Linked DNA regions of Homo sapiens: region 2 is linked to region 1. Evidence: promoter capture Hi-C in human tissues and cell types (Jung and others, 2019). All regions are on one chromosome and are shown on one strand. Each heading gives the region's core, a stretch centred on a gene start or on the middle of the fragment in contact. The rest is flanking DNA. Distances are from core to core; before and after follow the strand shown.

Region 1 (4,768 bases), core at 2,253-4,752:
GTACCATTTTACATCCCACTAGCAATGTATGAGACATAAAGTTTCTCTGCATACTCTTTTGTCACTATTTTTTATTTTAGTTTCTAACATATAATTTTGAAAATCAGTGATAGGCATTGAGTTTTATTGATTACATATTTTGGCATTTATTGAGATAATTTCAGTGTGTCTCTTATTGGACCTATTAATGAATTGTATTATTCTATGTATCTATATGTATATGTTTTAAATGATAAAAAGATCAAACAGTATGAAAGGGGAAACAAGGTAAAGTAAATCTCGTACCATTCCTATTAGAGTTTCCCTCCTCAGAGGCAATCACTTTACCTGATTCTTGACAGTGTAGGGACTATATCTGTATGTTAACAGTAGCATATCACATGCACAGTACTGTAGCCTGCCTTTTCACTTTATTTATTTATTTATTTAGAGATGATGTCTTGCTCTGTCACCCAGAATAGAGTGTAGTGGCCCAATCATAGCTCATTGAAGCCTCAACTTCCAGGGCTCAAGTGATCCTCCCACCTCAGCCTCCCAAGTAGCTGTAACTATAGGTATGCGCCCCATGCCTGGCTAATGTATCTTTTGTAGAGATGGAGTTTTGCCATGTTGCCCAGGCTGGTCTTGAATTCCTGGACTCAAGCCATCCTCATGTTTCAGCCTCCCAAAGTACTGGGATTATAGGTACAAGCCACTGCATCTGGCCCATTTAATATCTTACAGACCATTCTATATCAGTACGTAGGGATCTATTCTCATTCTTTTTTACAGCTTGCATAGCATTCTGTTTTTGTTGTTGTTGTTGTTGAGGAATGTGCCAGTTTAATCAACCAGGTCTTTTTTGATAGACATTAAGGTTATTTCCAGTTCTTTGTAATTACTGACAATGCTGCAGTGAATACTCTAGTACACTGGAATTTGTGCCCCATGTAAGCACTAATGTAGGATAAATTCCTGACATGAAATTGCTAGGTCAAGACATTGAGGTTGGAATAGCTGTGCCAAATTGCCTTCGAAGAGGCTCAAACATTTTAAAGTCCCATCAACAATGAACAAGAATGTCTTTCTCTACAATATCTTTTCTTTCTTTCTTTTATGAGACAGAGTTTCACTCTGTCACCCAGGCTGGAGTGCAGTGGCGTGATCTCTGCTCACTGAAACCTCCACCTCTAGGGTTCAAGTGATTCTCCTGCCTCAGCCTCCCAAGTAGCTGGGATTACAGGCATGCACCACCATGCCCAGTTAATTTTTGTGTTTTTAGTAGAGACAAGGTTTCACCATGTTGGCCAGGCTGGTCTCGAATTGCTGATCTCAAGCGATCCACCCGCCTCAGCCTCCCAAAGTGCTGGGATTACAGGCGTGAGCCACCACGCCTGGCCAATATCTTTTCTAATTTATCTTTTCCAATCTGACATCTAAAAAAATAGTATTTCACCGTAAGTTGCAGTTCTTCTATTATGAAGTGGCTCAGTATCTTTTCATTTGCTTAAAAGTTATCTGTATTACTTTTCTATTAACTGTGGGTTCATACCCTTTGCCCATTTAATGTATTATTTAAAATCAATGTTTAGCTAGCAAAACACCGCTTTCCTATTTTCATTTGCTCAACAACCTCCTCAGAGGCAGGAGGTTCCTTCAGACAGGTGTCCCCCGTCCTCTGCAACCAGTTACCTCTTCTAACTCATAAATGCCTCCTTCCCCAACACCACTGTCTGTTCCCAAGGAAGGGCCCCTTTATGGTCTCATCAACATCTCACAGCCCTCCCAAAATTATGTGCATGCTCTCCCATCCCTCCCCTCTGGAGTGCTCTTTTCCCAGTCAAACCTAACCAGTCCTTCAGGGTCCAGCCTAATTCCACCTGTTTGGGCACCTTTCTGAATAACTAGTGCTCACATTGCATACAGTCTCACTTTCAGGCGCGCCTCCTCCCATCAATCAGAGCCTATGTCCCGAGAAGGCTGGGCCTGACAACAGCTGGAGCCCAGCTGCTGCTCTGTCTTTGCTCAGTGTGTGTGTGTGTGTGTGTGTGTGTGTGTGGCCGGGAGTCTGAGTGTGGAGTATGTTTCATTCACTCATCCTGCAGTTTTTTTTTTTAGACTGAGTCTCGCTGTTGCACAGGTTGCAGGGCAGCGGCGCGATCTCGGCTCACTGCAACCTCTGCCTCCCTGGTTCAAGCGATTTTCCCGCCTCAGCCTCCTGAGTAGCTGGGATTACAGGCGCCCGCCACCACGCCCGGCTAGCTTTTGTATTTTTTTGGTAGAGACGGGGTTTCACCATGTTGGCCAGGCTGGAATAGAACTCCTGACCTCAAGTGATTCACCCGCCTCGGCCTCCAAGAGTGCTGGGATTACAGGCCTGAGCCACCGTGCCCCACCCCATCCTACAGTTATTGAATGCGTAATGCATACATGAGTCAGGTGCTGTTCCAGGCATTGGAGACCAGGCAGTGTATGAGGTAGATCAAAGCCCCTTCTCTCATCCAGCTGACATGTTGGAACTAATATACAACAAACAAGACAAACACAAATATCAATTAAATGTAAACAAGTAATGAAATAGCGAGGGAAGGAGGGGAAGGATTTTCTTTGCAGAGGGCTCAGGGAGGGCTCCCCGAGGAGATAAGATAGGAGTAAAGACCCGAATATGAGAGGGTGCCGCCACTGCAAAGAGCTTTGCAGGGCCCCCTAGAGGCCCCGCCTGGCCACCGCTCTTCCAGAGATGGACGTGCTGCCGAGCCCTCAAAACCCCTTTTTTCTGTTACTTGACAGAAACTGAAGGCAAGAGCTTGCGATCCCTGCAACCTCAGTGGTGTGTGGCGGTAACCCTGCTCCCTCCTGTTTCACATCCCAGCTGAAAACTTGGGAAAATGAAATCGCGCTCGGCCTGCCGTTGATAGAGCACCTACTACATGCCATGGTCCGGTTAAGCACTTTATGCGATTGTTACTTCATTTAATCTACACAACAATCCCGTGTGGACTCGATTAACCTTACAGGGGAAGAGAAGGAGGCTGGGAATATGGCAGGAACCTGAGTGTTAACTTGGTTCACACACAAGCGGAGTTCCCGGGTCGGGAAGTTCTGTGGTGCGGGTCGGCTGGGGTTTACTGAGCGTTCGGGCGCTCGCCGTTTTCGGAGTTGGTCGGGTCCAACCGCGCGCCCCGAAGCTGCCCAGGCGCGCCCGCCAGCGGCCCCCGCCAGCGGCCCCCCGCGCCGCCCGGGTCTCCCGGCCTCGGGGGCAAAGGGGAGCGCCGGTGCCAGCAGGCTGGGGGCGGGGAAGGCTCGGGGACAAAGGCCGCGGGCACTGCGCTGGGTTGGCCGGAGCGGCTGCGAACTCCGGGCGCCAGGACCCGGCCGGGCGGTCGCTCCCTCAGGAGCCCGCGCCTGGATGGAGCGCCTCGCGGCGCCGCCGGGCCACGCGCAGGCCGAGCCCCCGCCACCGCCCCCGCCTCCGCCCCTGCCCGCGCCCCCGCCCCCTCCCCCCCACCCCGCGGCGGCTCCGCGCTCGGCGAACATGGCGGCGGCGACGGTCGGGCGGGACACTTTACCTGAGCATTGGTCCTACGGGGTGTGCCGGGATGGCCGCGTCTTCTTCATCAAGTGCGGCGCGAGGACCCGGGGACGCGGGGACGCGGGTGGGGGCGCGGGGGCGGGGGCCGGGCGGGCACCCGGCGGGCTGTGGCGGCGCTAACAGGTGCACCTCTCTGCCCGCAGTGACCAGCTCCGCTGCACGACCTGGCTGCATCCGCGCACCGGGGAGCCCGTCAACTCGGGCCACATGATCCGCTCAGGTGGGCGCCGGGCCGGCGGGTGGGGGGCGCGCGCAGCGGCGGCCCAAGTTTGACCCGACTTTTCTGGCGTTTCCGCAGACCTGCCCCGCGGCTGGGAGGAGGGCTTCACGGAGGAGGGCGCCAGCTACTTCATCGAGTGAGTGAGTGGGGCCGCCGCGCTCGCACCTGTGCCGCGGGGGGGGGGTCCCTCCCCGTTCCCGCCGGGCGCCCCGCCCTTCCTCTGCTCCCGCCGGCCCGGGCTCGTTGGCGCGCGCTGCGCCGCGGCCACACTCAACGTTTTGTGTGCCCAAGTTGTTTGGCGGCCTCCGAGAGGAAGGCGGTGGGGGCCGCACCTACGCTGGGGACCTGGGCCGGGGGGGAAGAGGCCGCAGACTCTGCGCCCTGGACCTTGCAATCCGGCTGGATTCGGGTGCTGGTGTGCGGGCTGGGCACGCCTCCCCTCTAGGGTCTGGGGCTGCGCCCCGCCGGGAGAGGCGAGTGCCGGGACCTGGATGGGCTCGGGTGGGAGGAGTAGAACGAGAAGTTCTGTCCTGGTGTGGGCCTGCGGGGTTGGAGTGGGGAGAGGGAGAGACTAGGGGAATCTCGCTTAGGAGGACGCCCCCTCTCCCGCCGCAGGCTCTGGGATGGTCTTGGAGAGTCGGAACCTCGCCCCCGGCCTCCATCCACTGCGCGGGCCTGCGGGGAGGGAGGGGGTGGGGAAGGGAACTGGTCAACCAATGACTTTCCTCGAGCGCTCCGCGTCTCTTCGGCCGGAGCTGAACCGGGGGATTGCTGGTGCTTCCGTTAGTCCACGGGCGACTTTTCCGCAAAAGCCCCGGAGTGTTGGCGCACCAGCCAGGTTACCCTGGGTCTGTAGGATCAGTCCATGTCAGATTGGGGCGCAGTAAGTGAAGGCGCGGGTCAGGCTCCTATGCCAGTACAGGCTTTGCTTTCCCACTCCGGCGGGAGTCTGTGTTGCAGCGTGTTTCCCTCTGCCT
Region 2 (4,408 bases), core at 1,909-4,408, 260 kb after region 1:
CAAAAATCTAACATACGATACAATCCAAATTATAAAAAGACTACTTGGGATCATAATATTCCAAATGTATGACAGTTATAACTCCATCTTAACAAGTGTGAAAAGTACTTGCTCTCATGTTGCTTTGGTCCAAAAGAGTAGAGCTAACTCAGTAACAGGAAACTAAGTACCCAATCTTTTGCCAAAATTAATTTAGATTGTGACTGGCAGCAGAAATATCCATAATGAACAGCTCTACTATAACAAAGAATAATTAAAGAATACTTTTCGTGAACATATCACAGTATCAAATACATTTTTATAAGAGAAAAATATGAAGGAAATGATAAAATAGCTATCACAAACAAAAAGAAGCATTTCCCCCATAAGGTGAATTAGAGGGTTGATGATGCTAATATGAAAGGAAGTTGAGTACTGTATTTATTTCTTATTTTATACAACTCTTACTCTTTACAAAAATGGTTATAGTCATGCCCATAAAAGTGTAACCCATGGCATTTGAAAGCAAACACTCTTTGTAATTATTTAAAAGGGCCTTTTTAAAAATTATAATACAAAGGTCTGTGCTCTATAAGCAGTCCTCCACTGTGCATTGTAACAATAAGGCTTACTTTTAATACAAAGACTAAGCGTTTGGGAGTTATGAACCACTGGATTTAACAAACATCATTTTATAATTGCTTTTTGCATCTTTTTTGTTTTTGGGATCCTCCACTTCATCAGGGTGCTCAGCAGCTTGGAGTTCTTCAGCAGATTCTTCTTTCTCTGACTCTGAATCGCTTTCAGAATCATCTGGACTTTCAGGATCAGGTGAATCATCATCGTCATCATCATCATCTCCAGCCACATCACCTTCTCCATCATGGTCTTCTACCTAAAACATCAATCAACAGGCTCTTTTAAAAATAAACATTAGCCCATACAAAATCTGAGAAAGACCGTAAGTTCTGTCGGTCTTAGAAACACTCTACTTTGTAGCCATTAGAACAACAGCTTTAAGACTTGAGTAGAATTTTAAGAAAGAGCTCTGTCTGGCTGGGCCCAGTGGCTCATACCTGTGGCTGGGATTCCAGCTACTCAAGAGGCTGAGAGGCAGGGGGATTGCTTGAGGCCCAAAGTTTGAGACCAGCCTGGGCAACATAGTGAGACCCTGTCTCTTAAAAAAAAAAAAAAAAAAAAAAAAAAAAAAAAAAAAAAGGGAGAGAGAGAGAGAGAAACTAAAAAAAAAAAAAGAAAAAAGAAAAAAATTAGCCAGGCATGGTGGTGCATGCCTGTAGTTCTAGCTACTCGGGAGGCTGAGGTGGGAGGATTGCTTGAGCCTAGGAGTTCAAGGCTGTAGCGAGCTATGATCATGCCACTACATTCCAGCCTGTGTGACAGAGCAAGACTCCATTTCTTAAAAGACAAAAGAAAACAAGAGGGGAGGTGCTCTGAAGATCACACACCTATCTCCCCTCCCCTAGTTTGAAAACCATGGTATTATATTTTCCTGAAAGAAACAATTTTTTAAATTAATAAGGCATGTTAACCACTGACCTTTATGTAGAAATCAGTTATCAATGTTTTGCACATTGTATTACTTTGGAGTAAACAGTAGTCACACATAAATTCATAATATAAAAAGAGATCACTTAGGAAACAACTGAAAAAAAAATAAAAAAGCTCTCCTAAACCATTATTTTAAACCTAAATGAAATATTTTACTTAACTTGTGAGCATGTTGTTGTTCACGCCTATTAAAAATGTGCCCTGGCCGGACATGGTGGCTCACACCTGTAGTTCCAGCACTTTGGAAGGCGGAAAGATCGCTTGAACCCAGGAGTTTTGAGACCAGCCTGGGCAACATAGCAAAACTCCGTCTCTACAAAAAATACAAAAATTAGCTAGGCATGGTGGTGCAGGCCTATATCCCAGGTCCTCAGGAGGCTAAGGTGGCAGTGAGACTGTGCCACTATACTCCAGCCTGGGTGACAGAGTGAGAACCTGTCTCAAAAAAGGGGGAAAGAAAGGTACTCTAATGATTAAGCAGAATTTTCACTTTCAGAAAACACACTTTAAAATCCTTAGAAACAGGCCAGGTGAGGCTGGACATGGTGGTTCAAGCCTGTAATCCTAGCACTTTGGGAGGCTGAGGTGGGCGGATTGCCTGAGCTCAGTAGTTCAAGGCCAGCCTGGGCAACATGGTGAAACCCTATCTCTCCTGAAATACAAAAAATTAGCCTGGTGTGGCGGCATGCACCTGTAATCCCAGCTACTCGGGAGGCTGAGGCAGAATTGCTTGAACCCGGGAGGTGGAAGTTGCAGTGAGCTGAGATGGAGCCACTGCACCCCAGCCTGGGGCAACAGAGAGAGACTGTCTCCAAAAGAAAAATAAAAGGCCGGGTATGGTGGCTCACACCTGTAATACCAGCACTTTGGGAGCCCAAGGTGGGTGGGATCACCTGAGGTCAGGAGTTTGAGGCCAGCCTGGTTACATGGTGAAACCCCATCTCTACAAAAATTGGCTGGGCGTGATGGCAGGCGCCTGTAATCCCAGCTACTCAGGAGGCTGAGGCAGAAGAATCACTTGAACCCGCGAGGTGGAAGACATCACACCACTGCACTCCAGCCTGGTGACAGTGAGACTGCATCTCAAAAAAAAAGGAAAAAACAACCCCACACAAAATCCTTAGAAACATCTCTCCTGATTATCTACAAGACCAGTAGGGCATATACAAAATTATTTTTAAGATAACTACATACAGAAAGCTTTCTACATGGGATTCTTGATTGCTAGGGTAATCTAACAGCAATAAATGGTACCAAATTGAAAACTAATTATCTTCCCAATGAAAATAAGTTAATTACTACCTCACTGAAGCCAAGTCCACAATGTCGCCGATATCTTCCTGATAATTTACTGTCCATACTTTGCTGATATTGAGACTCCAGTTCTTCATTAATTTTCTTGTCTTCTTCCCCTGCATGTCCAGGATACTTTAGTTATGTTTCAGTCAAATTAATAATTTACACAAAAACCCATAATACAGATGCTATTATACTCAGGGCTGATTTATCTAATTGTGACTAATTTTACTATGACTTTTGAGAATTTATGCCATAGGTGGTTACCTAATAGAAAATAAAATGCCTGATGTTGAGATAGCATAAATATTTATTACTAAGCACTTTGGGTATTAAATGTTTTAGCTTACTTATAATAAGTAGATGTTATCCTGAAAGATTTTTTTCTAGTCACCTAATAAAAACTCTCTAACAAACAGAATTATCTATCTTTGAACAAAAACAGTGAAAAAAGCTAGGCACTTCTGTTCAGCAAATGGCTAAATAAAATGGTCATGTACTGACTCTTCTTTATGCCTTTCTTTGCTTATCAAGTTTATCAGAGCAACTTAAAAGTTTAAAGCAGCAGTTTCCAACCTTTTTGGCACCAGGCACCGGTTTTGTGGAAAACAATTTTTCCATGGAGGGGGGTGGTGGTGGTTTTGAGATGATTCAAGTGTATTACATTTATTGTGTACTTTATTATTATCACATCGTAATATATAATGAAATAATTGTACAACTCACCATAATGTAGAAGCAGTGGGAGCCCTGAGCTTGTTTTCCCTGCAACTAGACGGTCCCATCTAGGGGTGATGGGAGACAGTGACACCCTAAGTGTGTTGCTTATGTCCAGTCTACTCTGTAATCTTGTTTGGCTGCTGTCACTACAGAAAACCCTGTTTCACAAAGACAGGAGGTTGGAAATGGAAGCAGGCTTTCCAGTGCTTTCGTGGCAATCTCAGGATGTTCCACTTTGTCTTTAATCCAGAATGTATGGAGATGTGAAGTTGTCTCAAACATACTTTTAAGGGCAACATCATTTGTGATCTTAAGCAGCTGATCCTCTTCTAGCATGAACAAAGTCGATTCACCTGGCTTATTCACAAATGGGTTGTGAATCCATTCCTTCCCAGTTCGGGGCTCTTTCGTGGCTGGAAAATAATACTCAAACTCTTTGAAGGCTGAGATAGGTGATCATGTGCCAGCTGGGAGAAAAAAGGTCCTGGCTCAGTCTCTTTTAAAATCTCTGCTAATGTTTGAAACATGTCAAAAAATCCCAATGTTCACTTGTGGCCCCCATAATACTAGTCTGGCTTTGAATGCAGCCACTCTATCTGCCAACTTGAACACAGTTTTGTTCTCCCCTGAGGTGACAGATTGAATATGTCACACAAGTAAGCAAGTTTTTTTTTTTTTTTCGAGGGAGTCTCGCTCTCTTGCCCAGGCTGGAGTGCAGTGGCATGATCTCGGCTCATTGCAACCTCTGCCTTCCAGGCTCAAGTGATTCTCGTGCCTCAGCCTCCCGAGTAGCCGGGATTATAGGCATGTGCCACCATGCCTAGCTAATTTTTGTATTTTTTAG

What was found. The method cuts DNA at HindIII sites, captures the fragments that hold promoters and counts their contacts. A contact is called where the count stands out against the background at its distance.
Region 2: a fragment that was not itself captured here is called in contact with the fragment with the promoter of PLEKHA7 in region 1 in 1 of the 25 tissues and cell types used here (liver).

What each region holds. Positions count from the first base shown.
Region 1 is chr11:17,013,148-17,017,915 of GRCh38, reverse strand. It overlaps PLEKHA7 (pleckstrin homology domain containing A7), which reads left to right and starts at 3,502. Exons shown (of 27, transcript NM_001329630.2): 1 at 3,502-3,600; 2 at 3,715-3,791; 3 at 3,870-3,927. The coding sequence starts at 3,515. The HindIII fragment of the contact is 16,980 bases long and covers 1-4,768 here.
Region 2 is chr11:16,751,337-16,755,744 of GRCh38, reverse strand. It overlaps C11orf58 (chromosome 11 open reading frame 58), which reads right to left. Exons shown (of 5, transcript NM_014267.6): 4 at 2,851-2,960; 5 at 1-874. The coding sequence ends at 641. Among named protein-coding and RNA genes, the nearest start is that of C11orf58, 15 kb to the right of the region's middle. The HindIII fragment of the contact is 6,533 bases long and covers 1-4,408 here.